4 separate regions of the Homo sapiens genome follow, and regions 1, 2 and 4 are each linked to region 3. The links are contacts of gene promoters, found by promoter capture Hi-C in human tissues and cell types (Jung and others, 2019). All regions are on one chromosome and are shown on one strand. Each heading gives the region's core, a stretch centred on a gene start or on the middle of the fragment in contact. The rest is flanking DNA. Distances are from core to core; before and after follow the strand shown.

Region 1 (2,700 bases), core at 63-2,562, 1.2 Mb before region 3:
GGCACCTGTAGTCCCAGCTTCTCGGGAGGCTGAGGCAGGAGAATCGCTTGAACCCAGGAGGCAGAGGTTGCAGTGAGCCGAGATCGTGCCACTGCACTCCAGCCTAGGCAACAGACAGACTCTGTCTCAAAAAAAAAAAAAAAAAAGTTGAAGAAAAACATTTGCAGAGGTGATTTAAAATAATTCTCATCTTCGCTGCAGTGGCTTTTAAGAAAAACATACAAGTAGCAATAGAAACAAGGAGACAGTTAAAAATGAGACACAGAAAGAAATAGCATAATGAGGACATTATATGCCTTACCTTATTTATCTTCTCTTTTGGGTGTGATAAGAGATTTGGGAAGTGTGACAGGACATCACAATTGAGAACAACCTGGGTCTGCTCGTCGGTGCCAGTCACTATGTTGCCAACTGCTCTGAGGGCTGCTGTCTAGGGTGGGGATAAAATGTTTTCTATAAATTTATTTGCTTATAAGACTAATTCTATATTTTTCATAATCCTGAGAAAAAGTAAAAATGCAAGGCATAAATAACACTTATTTCATCCTTTCACAAAGCACCAAGCAGTCTGAGAGCTATTCTGAATTTTAAATAGTCTCTTGTGAAAAACTGAAACTTTATGAAAAAAAAAAATTGTGTGAAAATTGGTTGGAAAAAGATTCAAAAAATAAAAGGAAATTAAAATTTTAGAAGAAGTCCAGTTTCTTAAGGCTGGGCATGGTGGCTCATGCCTATAATCCCAGCATTTTGGGAGGCCGAGGCGGGGGGGATCACCTGAGGTCAGGAGTTTAAGACCAGCCTGGGCAACATAGTGAAACTCCATCTCTACTAGAAATACAAAAATTAGCTGGTGTGATGGTGCATGCCTGTAATCCCAGCTACTCTGAAGGCTGAGGCAGGAGAATCACTTGAACCTGAGAGGCAGAGGCTGCGGTGAGCAGAGATCGCGCCACCATACTCCAGCTTGGGCGACAGAACAAGACTCCATCTCAAAAATATATATAATATTTTAATAAACGCCTGGAATGGGCACACACTTCCACCTAGAAAGTCACTTTGGTAAAGCAGGATGAACAGATCTAATAAGTGCCTACCCCTAATTAGAGTGGGAGAGAGAAAGAAGAAATGCAATTAGGTTATTGCAATTATTTGGGGGAAAGATAGAGTCTTGAACTAAATCTGTTGTTCTAGATAGATAAGGAGAGACAGATTTGAACCTATATAAGAAGAATTGAAATGATTTTGTAATGGAATGGGAATTGCAAGGAGGAATCAAAATTTCTAGCTTAGGCCATGCTGTTCACTGAAGGTAGACAAGGAAGAAGAGCAGGTTTGTGGGAGATGATCGTTTCATTTCTGTCTAGTTAACCACGGAAAGCTTGAAGGAGTTCTTAGATGATATGTATAAAGGGTCAAGAACAATTGGCTATACAAGTGTGGAACTCAGCAAAGAAACTGGGTGAGATAAAGATTTGGAAATCAACAAAATCAGGCTCAGGGACTAGCAGAAGAAATGTGGAAGATAAGCACTTACAGATAGAATTAAAGCCTAGCTGTACAAGTTAACTGGTTATAGCAAACACAACTGTATACAAATAAGAAAAATTTAAAAATACTTACTTGAACTTTGACTTCCTGATGGCTCAGAAGGGGCACAAGAAAGGGCACAACTCCTGAATCAATAACCATCTGTATCTGTTCATTACCTCCATCTGTCAAGTATGACAGAGCCCAAACAGTGTCTACAAGAATCTACAGGAAACACAAAAGAAAAACCATTTTACATATTTGTTTGAATGCTTTACTTGTTCAACACACCTCAGGAGTAGTGACAGAAAAAGTAACCAAATTTCAAGTTTTAGCTTAGTGGCAAAAATATCTGCTTAGCTGATTAATCTATTAAGTAGAAAGTACCTTATCTTTCTTTCAGTGCCTACCTCAGATCATTCTTCACAGAAAATGAGACACAGAAGTCTGGGAAAACTTCTATTCCAACTTCTGCATTTATGTATCAGACAGATGAATTTAAAAACAGGCAGAAAAGTAATTCTCCCTGCCCTCACAAATTAGCTACCTAATAATCCCACAGAAAAACACTATTTACAAGAATGAGGCCAACACACCATACTGTTTCAAGTTCAGAAGAGAACAGAAAGGTCATCTATTTACTCTACTGGTTTTCCAACATATTTAGCAATACAATTTTTCAGGCTACTAAAGTAAACCAATAAAAGAAATGACTTGGCACTTTAACTTCATCTGGGGAAAAAACTGTTTGAAAATCTCCTGAAATGTGTCCCCAACTGAAGTATAAACCTGGAGTATAAACCATGCCCTAGGCCTATCCTAACTTTGCAACTACATAGAAGAAAACAGGCTTAGCGATCTGGTGATTCATTCAAGGTCAAAGATCTTGTATGTGGCATTGCTTGGTGTCGTCACAGAGGAATATAAGCACTGGTTGTAGCTTATGCAAAATCAAGATGTTTCCTATTAGGTCATCCAAATTGAAGACATCACATCTTTTTGCCCTAAAATAATAGCAGGCACCTGAATTCACATACCCTTCAAAAAAGGATATAGATGAATAAATAAAATAGAACTACACATATAACCCACACCCCTTCAGCATTACTAAGAGTCAGAGAACACTAAAAATTTCCATTATCTGTAAGAGGAGAAAAAATTAAATTCTAGCTT
Region 2 (2,707 bases), core at 49-2,548, 1.7 Mb before region 3:
GGAAAAATATCGATTTCTTAAAAACTAAGTTCATTGCAGTATTATAATACATTATAATGGAGTGTTTAGTTATATAACTATTGCAATGTACGTATAACATATAATAATACAAGGTACTTGGTATGCCATCTGGAATGCAGTAATTCTCAGTAAATGTGAGCTAGCATTTTTGTCCTCAGTTCATATCCTATTAACTATCACTTGTTGGGTCTTTTTGTTTGTTTTTAAAAACATGAAACAAAAGTACTGAACATTTATTTTCTAAAAATCCAACAACTCATAAGAGGCATATTCACTTCATTACTTAGCTTTTTAAGGGACACCATTGGCATTTTACTCCCAAAGGATGCTATCTTTCACTGAAAGTCTTCAGTTATTTTTTGTATTTATAATAACCCCATTCATATGATTCTGAGTTATCCTCCAGCATGCATCTTTAAAAACTGGATTCTTGTGCCTAATGCAAGCATCTGGCTTTCTTAAATAAAGATGAAAATGGCCAGGTGCAATGGATTGAGCCTTATAGTCCGAGCTACGCAAGAGGCTGAGGTGGGGACTACTCTCTTAAGCCCAGGGGTTGAAACCTGCAGTGAGCTATGATCGAGCCACCGCACTCCAGCCTAGGCAACAGAGCAAGACCTCACCTCTAAAAATAAATAAAAATAAAAATGCATTTCATAAACACATTTCCCAGTAGCAGTTCCTAAGTTGGATTCTTTAAATGTTCCTTTACTAATTTCCATATACATTTTGATTTCCTTCGACAAGGAAAAAATACAAAGTATATTTTATGTTTAAGTTGTTGGGCTATATATAAAAATGAATAGGCCTGTAATCCCAGCACTTTGGGAGGCAGAGGTGGGTGGATCACTTGAGGTCAGGAGTTTGAGAACAGCCTGGCCAACATGGTAAAACCCTGTCTCTACTAAAAATACAAAAAAAAAAAAAAAACCAACTAGCTGGACGTGGTGGCACATCCCTGTAATCTCAGCTACTCGGGAGGCTGAGGCATGAGAATCACTTGAACACAGGAGGTAGAGGTTGCAGTGAGCCGGGATTGTGCCATTGCACTCCAGCCTGGGCAACAGAGTGAGACTGTCTCAAAATAATAATAATAATAATAGGACCAGGACCCTTAACCTCAAGATTCTGTGACTTGTCAGGATGGGGGAAAAAAAGTATGTAAATAAGTATAGATGTGATTAAATAAGTTTTAATAAAGAGCAGGGGAATTTAGAGAAACTGTACCAAGCATTAAATGTATTACTTTTAGTAACCAGAAATTCCTTCCATGGATGTAGTTAAGATTTTATAGTATTTGGGAGGCCAAGGCAGGAGGACCATTTGAAGCCAGGAGTTCAAGACCAGCCTGGGCAACATAGCAAGACCCTGTCTCTACAAAAAAAACTAAAAAGTTAGCCAGGTGTGGGAGTGCACACCTGTAGTCCCAAGCTGCTAGAGAGGCTGAGGCAGGAGAATCACTTGAGCCCAGGAGTTCAAGGCTGCAGTGAGTTATGCTTGCACCACTGCACTCTAGCCTGGGTGACAGAGTGAGACCCTGTCTCAAAAAATAATAATAATAAAATAAAAGATGTTATAGTGATTGTTGGCTCAAACCATGCAAACTCTGCTGAACATAGTTTATTAACAATAACTCTCCATCTGAGGAGTCATTAAATCTTTCTGAGCTCAGTTTGCTCACATGTAAAGTAAGAAGGTTAGAACCAAATTATTTGTCATCTCTTCTACATAAATTATTCTGTGAATCCCTCACTTCCCTCAGCCTTGTAGGTTTGGGTATATTTTAGAAATTTGCTAGAATTAGGCCAGGTACAGTAGCTCTCACCTGTAATCCCAACACTTTGGGAAGCCAAAACAGGAGGATCGCTTAAGCCCAGGAGTTCAAGACCAGCCTAGGCAACATGACGAAATCTCATCTCTACAAAAACTACAAAAACATCCAGGTGTGGCGGTGCATGTCTGTAGTCCCAGCTACTCGGGAGGCTGAGGTGGGAGGATCACTTGAGCCCAGGAGGTCAAGGCTGCAGTGAGCTGTGATTGTACCACTGCACTCCAGCCTGGGTAAGAGAGCAAGACCCTGCCTCAAAAAAAAAAAAAAAAAAAAAGTACTAGAATTAAACAAAAGAGACTTGTTGCACCTAAAATAGCTTTTTATAAAGCTTTCAAGTCCATGAGGTTGATTTTCATTTAAAATACAGTTGCTAACAAGTTGGGTCATCTGCTGTGCCCACCAATAGCATGTTAAAAGCATTCAATAGGATGGCACAAGAGAGGAAGGGCTATTAGCAACAGAACAGTGATGTTGGGAGATGGGGTAACTAGACTGACAGGAAAGAATGAGGAAAAGTGGGACATCCAATGGTGAGGTCCATCACACTGATCCTGAGCCCCCGACGGCAACACCAAACTATGCTCAGCACTTTTTAAAGAAATTATTTAAACTGACAAATAAAAATTGTATATGTTTATTGTATGCAACATGATGTTTTGATAGATATATGTTGTATACATTGTGGAATGGCTAAATCAAGCTAATTAGCATATCTGATACCTCACATACTTTTTTGGTAAGAATATTTAAAATCTACTGTCTTCGCAATTTTTAGATATACAATTTATTTTTGTTAACCATAGTCACCATGATGTACAATAGATTTGCTTTCTTTTCTTTTCTTGTTTGACACAG
Region 3 (2,992 bases), core at 231-2,730:
AGGGTTTGGTACTATTTGCGGTTTTAGGCCTTCACTGGGGGTTTTGGATCCCATCCTACAGGAATAATGGGGTGCTCCTGTAGCTGTTAGTAAGACGATGGTGTGCCTGGGGATTTGTGCTATACACCACAGCATCTTCTACAGTCGTTTTGGGGGAGAGGGAAGATCAGAGCAGTACCAATCTGCTGCTCCTTGCCCCAAAACTGGCAAGAGGCGCCTTTCCTCAGCCAGAAAGGCCTCTTCTCCACCAGCTGTGTCCTGCAATCAACTGCAGCTGTATTGGTCTCACCCCATGGGAAACAGGTTTGAAGTTAAAAACCTTTTCAGAGGGCCGAGATAAATTTAGTGCTGCTAAATTTAACTATCTTCAAGATTAAACATGAAAAGCAAAGTGCATGAGTTATGTATATTATTCTTTCAATTGTGCAAAAATAAGACATTAACTTGTTTTTGCATGGAAAAATTCTGCAAGAATAGAGAAGAAATGTTAACAGTTACCCCTGGGATCTGGGATAAAAGAGATACATCATGCTTTTCTTTAAAAAAAAAAAAAATAGGTTTTTGTGGATTTTTTTGTTTTTGTTTTTTTTGACAGAGTCCAGCTCTGTAGCCCAGGCCAGAGTGCAGTGGTGGGATCTCGGTTCACTGCAACCTCCATCTCCTGGGTTCAAGTGATTCTTGTGCCTCAGCCTCCGTAGTAGCTGGGATTACAGATGTGCACCACCACACCCAGCTAATTTTTGTATTTTCAGTAGAGACGGAGTTTCACCTTGTTGGTCAGGCTGGTCTCCAGCTCCTGACCTCAGGCGATCCGCCCGCCTCGGCCTCCCAAAGTGCTGGGATTACAGGCCTGAGCCACTGCGCCTGGCCCGTGCTTTTCTCTAAAGTATGAAAGGAATATGTACTTTCTTCTTAAAAACCATGTACCAAACAACACTTTTCAATTAAAATGTTATTTTTAAAAGTTTAAATCCCCAAATTTCATGGCTCTAACTTTTTAAACATCACTTTTTAAATAAATGTCTAAGTTTTTAACTCAGTATACAGCGTTCTCCAAAACAACAAATTCATATTCTGAGCCCAAAACTGTGCACCTCTTTTAGTGATGAGGACGGAGTCCAAATTGAGGACATCCCTTGTAGCTCACAATGCACACATATTCTCACATCAATAGCAACACAGAATGCAACTGATGACCAATATATATTCACAAATAATTGAGGACCATGGCTAAGAGTTGCATTCGGATTCCGATGTGACTGCTATTGTCCTTAACACGGACTAGCTCCAGGTGAGTCCCCCGGCCCCGGGGGTGTGGCGGGCGTCACCCGTTGTCCGGGCACACACCCCGCAGACCCAATCCTAGCCCGCTGGCTAGACCATGGAGGGCCGCTGGGTGCAGCCACAGAGCGCGGGGCCCCGGCGACCCCGCCCCGCTCCGCGTCACTCGGCGCCCTGCGGCGCGCGATGAGCACCTACCACTAGCGGAGCCGCGAGGGAGAGGCCGCGGCCCCTTCCCGTTGCCTGCGGCCACCGGCCGGCATTCAGAGCCCCTCGCCTGGCGCTAAATTTAAAAACGTAACACGAGCAGCAGGCTGGTCTCGGAAACGAAACGAAATTCGGTCCCTGGGCCTCCTCCCGGGCGCTGCCGGTCCCTCAGCGCGCCGCGCCACCCGGAACAGACCCTTCTCCCGCCATTTTCGGCGGGGCTGGGAGACTGAGGCCCGCGGCGCTGAGCCTGCGGCGCCCCGGAAGAGGCGGGCGGCATGGCCGCTGGCGTGGACTGCGGGGACGGGGTTGGCGCCCGGCAGCACGTGTTCCTGGTTTCAGGTAAACACGCGCGCCCGGGCGGCGGGGTCGGCCCAAGAACTGGCGGAGCGGCCCGCGACCCCGGGCGCGCCGCCCCCCACCCCGGTGGCTCCCACTACCCGGCCCGGCGCGGGATGGGATTCTCTCTGGGACAGCTGGCCCCGCATTTTGGTCACACGTCATAGCAAGCCGCGGTTTTCAAACCCGGAAGCGCCGAAAAGGACCGAGCGTGTTTCCCGGGCCCTGATCCCCGGTGGCTCGGGTGGGAGGGTGGAAGCCGACTCAGCCTGAGGGGAGCCACGCGGGTTCGCGGTCACCGGTGCGCTGCGGGCCCCGGAGGTTTCTGCCCTTGGTGTCCCCTACCTGGCAGCTGGCCCTGCTTCTGTGATCCTACTGGGTTGGAACCAGGGATCCAGTAGGCTCGAAGTGGCCTCAGACGGTGCGCAGTTTTAAGAAAGCAAAGGGACAGGCCTGCAGTGGCGAGGCAGGAGGGAAGCGGGATGGGAGTCGCGGTTAGGCCAAGGGTAGTTCAAAGCGATTCAGCAGGATGATGACCACAGGAGTGCTGGAGCCGGGCCTTTCAGCCCCCGTGTGGATGATGACCGGCCATCCAGGACATGCGAGGGCTTGGGACAGTGGACAGCCAGTGCCACACAAGGAAGGACCGATTAAATGACACAGTTAAAGGAATTTGGCCTAGGGAGTGCAAGCCAGAAAGGTTTGGTCTTTTTATATATGTAACATTGGAAAAAAGGAACATCTCCTGTTCCCTGTATTAAGTTTTGACTTTAGCTCAGCAAATGCAGTGTTTGTGGCAGTAAATATACTCTGATAACAATATTCTTTCCCAGGAATTTAGAGTTTTATGATGGTTATTGAAAATGTTTACATGACAGGCTGTCAATAATATTTTTTGCCTCTAAAAATAAAACATACATAAAGTGTACGGATTTTAAGTATGCAACTCACTGAACTTTTCATACGTATACACCACCCTAGTAACCATCCCCCAGTTCAAGATGTAGACTGTTTCCAATAACGCCTCATGCCTGTTCCTAGATAGCCCCAGGAACCTCTATGCTGACCTCTGTCACCAGAGATTAGTTTTGCCTGTTTGAATAAGAGTGTACCCTTTGTGTCTGGCTTCTTTCACTCTGAAAGATTCATCCTTGTTGTGAAATTC
Region 4 (2,704 bases), core at 126-2,625, 1.2 Mb before region 3:
CCCCTCCTTCCAGCAGGACAGAAGAAGGGCACCTACCGGTAATATTTTTCTTTGACTATGGCATAAATGAGGAACAATGCCAGAGACCCATCCAGGGCGACGGTCAGAATTTCCACAGACACAATGGTTGGATCAAAATAAACCCATCTTGCATCAGCTTTGCCATATTCTTTCCCTAAAGACAAAATCCATGTTGTTACTCAAATGGCAACAATTTTTATGACAGTTCATGGAAATGACCTTTCTTTCCTTTAAGGTGGAGATAAAATGAGTAATCGCCACTCTCTCTGCATTCTTCACGATGCCTTAGTGGAAGGCAGGAGAAGCCCTGGGACCAAAATGCGTTTACCACCTGACACAAGCACTGAGAACAGCAGCAGGTTTACAGGTGTCCAATCATTCAGTTTCCAGCATGCTTTCACATACACGCCCTCCTCAGCCCCACCCTCTTCAACATAAGTAGCAGAATTTTAAAAGAATTCAACATGGTCAGATTTTGCAAAGACAATCTCCAGTCATGATCTTGGTAAATACATTGTAATTCCTTACTTCAAAATTTCCATATAAATTCTGTAAGTATAATGGAGATGTGGGAAATTTGTTATGAAGGACATGTTTATAAAAAACACGTTTATGGCCAGGCACGGTGGCTCACACCTGTAATCCCAACACTTTGGGAGGCCAAGGCGGGCAGATCACGAGGTCAGGAGATCGAGACCATCCTGGCCAACATGGTGAAACCCTGTCTCTACTAAAAATACAAAAAATTAGCCAGGCATGGTGGCGGGCACCTGCAGTCCCAGCTGAGGCAGGAGAATGGCATGAACCCAGGAGGCGGAGCTTGCAGTGAGCCGAGATTGCGCCACTGCACTCCAGCCTGGGTGACAGAGCGAGACTCCGTCTCAAAAAAAAAAAAACAAAAAAACAAACAACCAAAAACTTGTTTCTTGGCCAGGCACGGTGGCTCACGCCTGTAATCCCAGCACTTTGGGAGGCCAAGGTGGGCGGATCACTTGAAGTCAGGAGTTTGGGACCAGCTCAGCCAACATGGCGAAACCGTGTCTCTACTAAAAATACAAAAAGTAGCTGGGCGTGGTGGCGCATGCCTGTAATCTCAGCTACTTGGGAGGCTGAGGCAAGAGAATCGCTTGAACCCAGGAGGCGGAGGTTGCAGTGAACCGAGATCGCACCACTGCACTCCGGCCTGGGCAACAAGAGCTAGACTCTATCTCAATACAACAACACGTTTATTAATAACAGAAGAGAAACTAGGTGCTGAAGGGACAGTGGGCAGGGAGGGGAGGAGAGAGCCCAGACTGCAGAATGAATCGGAGTGGGCAGAGGGGCATCTCCGCCCACAGGGACAGGGAACTCACAATGGCTCTCACACAGTCTCAGCTGTGCTGCTTGGGGAGCCAGTGTGCTCTCAGAGATCCATCCAGACCCATTATCAGAGTGGTTTCTTCTCAGGAACACCATGACTCAGAAAGTCTTTTCAGGGCTGGAATGATGGCCAGGTATTATGGAGGCCATTAAAAATTATTTAATTACTTTCTTAATTTGTAAAAGTAATACATGCTGGTCCTAAGATCTCAAATGATTACAGTGAAAAAATGGAAGTGATCACACCTCGTCTCCCCCTTTAATACTGCCTCGCATTATTCAGAAAAGGTGTGAAGTCCACAGAGGAGCCTGTGATCTGCTACTGAGCAGCACACAGCTCTTGTCTCATAAAGACCAGAGGAAGGATCCCTCAGGGCCTGGGACAAAGGTTTCTAACAAAAGGCTGTCCTAAGAGAAAGGACAATAAGAGGATTAGCTATTTAATGGGATAACACACAAGGCACATGCTGAGGGAATGTTCTGTGAGAGGCCACCGAGAGTCATCAGCCTGTCCTTAGCTGACTGTCTGCAGTCTCCTGTGCCCTCCAATAACTAACTGGAAAACAATGTCATATTGAAACGTTTCTCCTCTAAATTTAAATATACATACAATAGGTGAAATGTACCAGTTAGTGCACCTAAAATCTAATAAAATATCACCTAAGTAAAATGTCAGTTCTTTAGGAACAAAAAGAGATATTGACCAAGTCTTTTTTTTTTTTTTTTTGAGAAGGAGTCTCACTGTTACCCAGCCTGGAGTGCAATGGCATGATCTCGGCTCACTGCAACCTCTGCCTCCCAGGTTCAAGTGATTCTCCAGCCTCAGCCTCCCAAATAGCTGGGACTACAGGCACCCACCACCACACTCAGCTAATACTGACTGACTGAGACGGAGTCTCACTTTGTCACCCAGGCTGGAGTGCAATGGCCAGATCTTGGCTCGCTGCAACCTCCGCCTCCCGTGTTCAAGCAATTCTCCTGCCTCAGCCTCCCAAGTAGCTAGGATTATAGGCACTCACCACCATGCCCGGCTAATTTTGTATTTTTAATAGAGATGGGGTTTCACCATGTTGGTCAGGCTGGTCTTGAACTCCTGACCTCAGGTGATCCACCTGCTTTGGCCTCCTAAAGTGCTGGGATTACAGGCTTGAGTCACTGCACCTGGCCTAATTTTTGTATTTTTGGTAGAGACAGGGTTTCACAATGTTGGCAAGGCTGGTCTCAAACTTAACCTCAAGTGATCCATCTGTTTTGGCTTCCCAAAATGCTGGGATTACAGGCGTGGGCCACCGTGTCCAGCCTTCAACAAGTCTTTTTTTTT

Evidence for each region. The method cuts DNA at HindIII sites, captures the fragments that hold promoters and counts their contacts. A contact is called where the count stands out against the background at its distance.
Region 1: a fragment that was not itself captured here is called in contact with the fragment with the promoter of RNASEH2B in region 3 in 1 of the 25 tissues and cell types used here (lymphoblastoid cells).
Region 2: a contact is called between a fragment that was not itself captured here and the fragment with the promoter of RNASEH2B in region 3, in 1 of the 25 tissues and cell types used here (heart left ventricle).
Region 4: a fragment that was not itself captured here is called in contact with the fragment with the promoter of RNASEH2B in region 3 in 1 of the 25 tissues and cell types used here (mesenchymal stem cells).

Annotation. Positions count from the first base shown.
Region 1 is chr13:49,709,271-49,711,970 of GRCh38, forward strand. KPNA3 (karyopherin subunit alpha 3) reads right to left here. Exons shown (of 17, transcript NM_002267.4): 11 at 1,621-1,752; 12 at 302-430. Among named protein-coding and RNA genes, the nearest start is that of EBPL, 19 kb to the left of the region's middle. The HindIII fragment of the contact is 7,351 bases long and covers 1-2,700 here.
Region 2 is chr13:49,229,469-49,232,175 of GRCh38, forward strand. No RefSeq gene overlaps it. Among named protein-coding and RNA genes, the nearest start is that of MLNR, 10 kb to the left of the region's middle. The HindIII fragment of the contact is 4,900 bases long and covers 1-2,707 here.
Region 3 is chr13:50,908,311-50,911,302 of GRCh38, forward strand. RNASEH2B (ribonuclease H2 subunit B) reads left to right here and starts at 1,481. Exons shown (of 11, transcript NM_024570.4): 1 at 1,481-1,830. The coding sequence starts at 1,767. RNASEH2B-AS1 (RNASEH2B antisense RNA 1) reads right to left here and starts at 2,402. Exons shown (of 3, transcript NR_046552.1): 1 at 2,173-2,402. RefSeq lists silencers at 1,296-1,725, 1,736-1,975, 2,186-2,235. The HindIII fragment of the contact is 12,674 bases long and covers 1-2,992 here.
Region 4 is chr13:49,663,021-49,665,724 of GRCh38, forward strand. EBPL (EBP like) reads right to left here. Exons shown (of 4, transcript NM_032565.5): 3 at 37-175. Among named protein-coding and RNA genes, the nearest start is that of EBPL, 27 kb to the right of the region's middle. The HindIII fragment of the contact is 6,425 bases long and covers 1-2,704 here.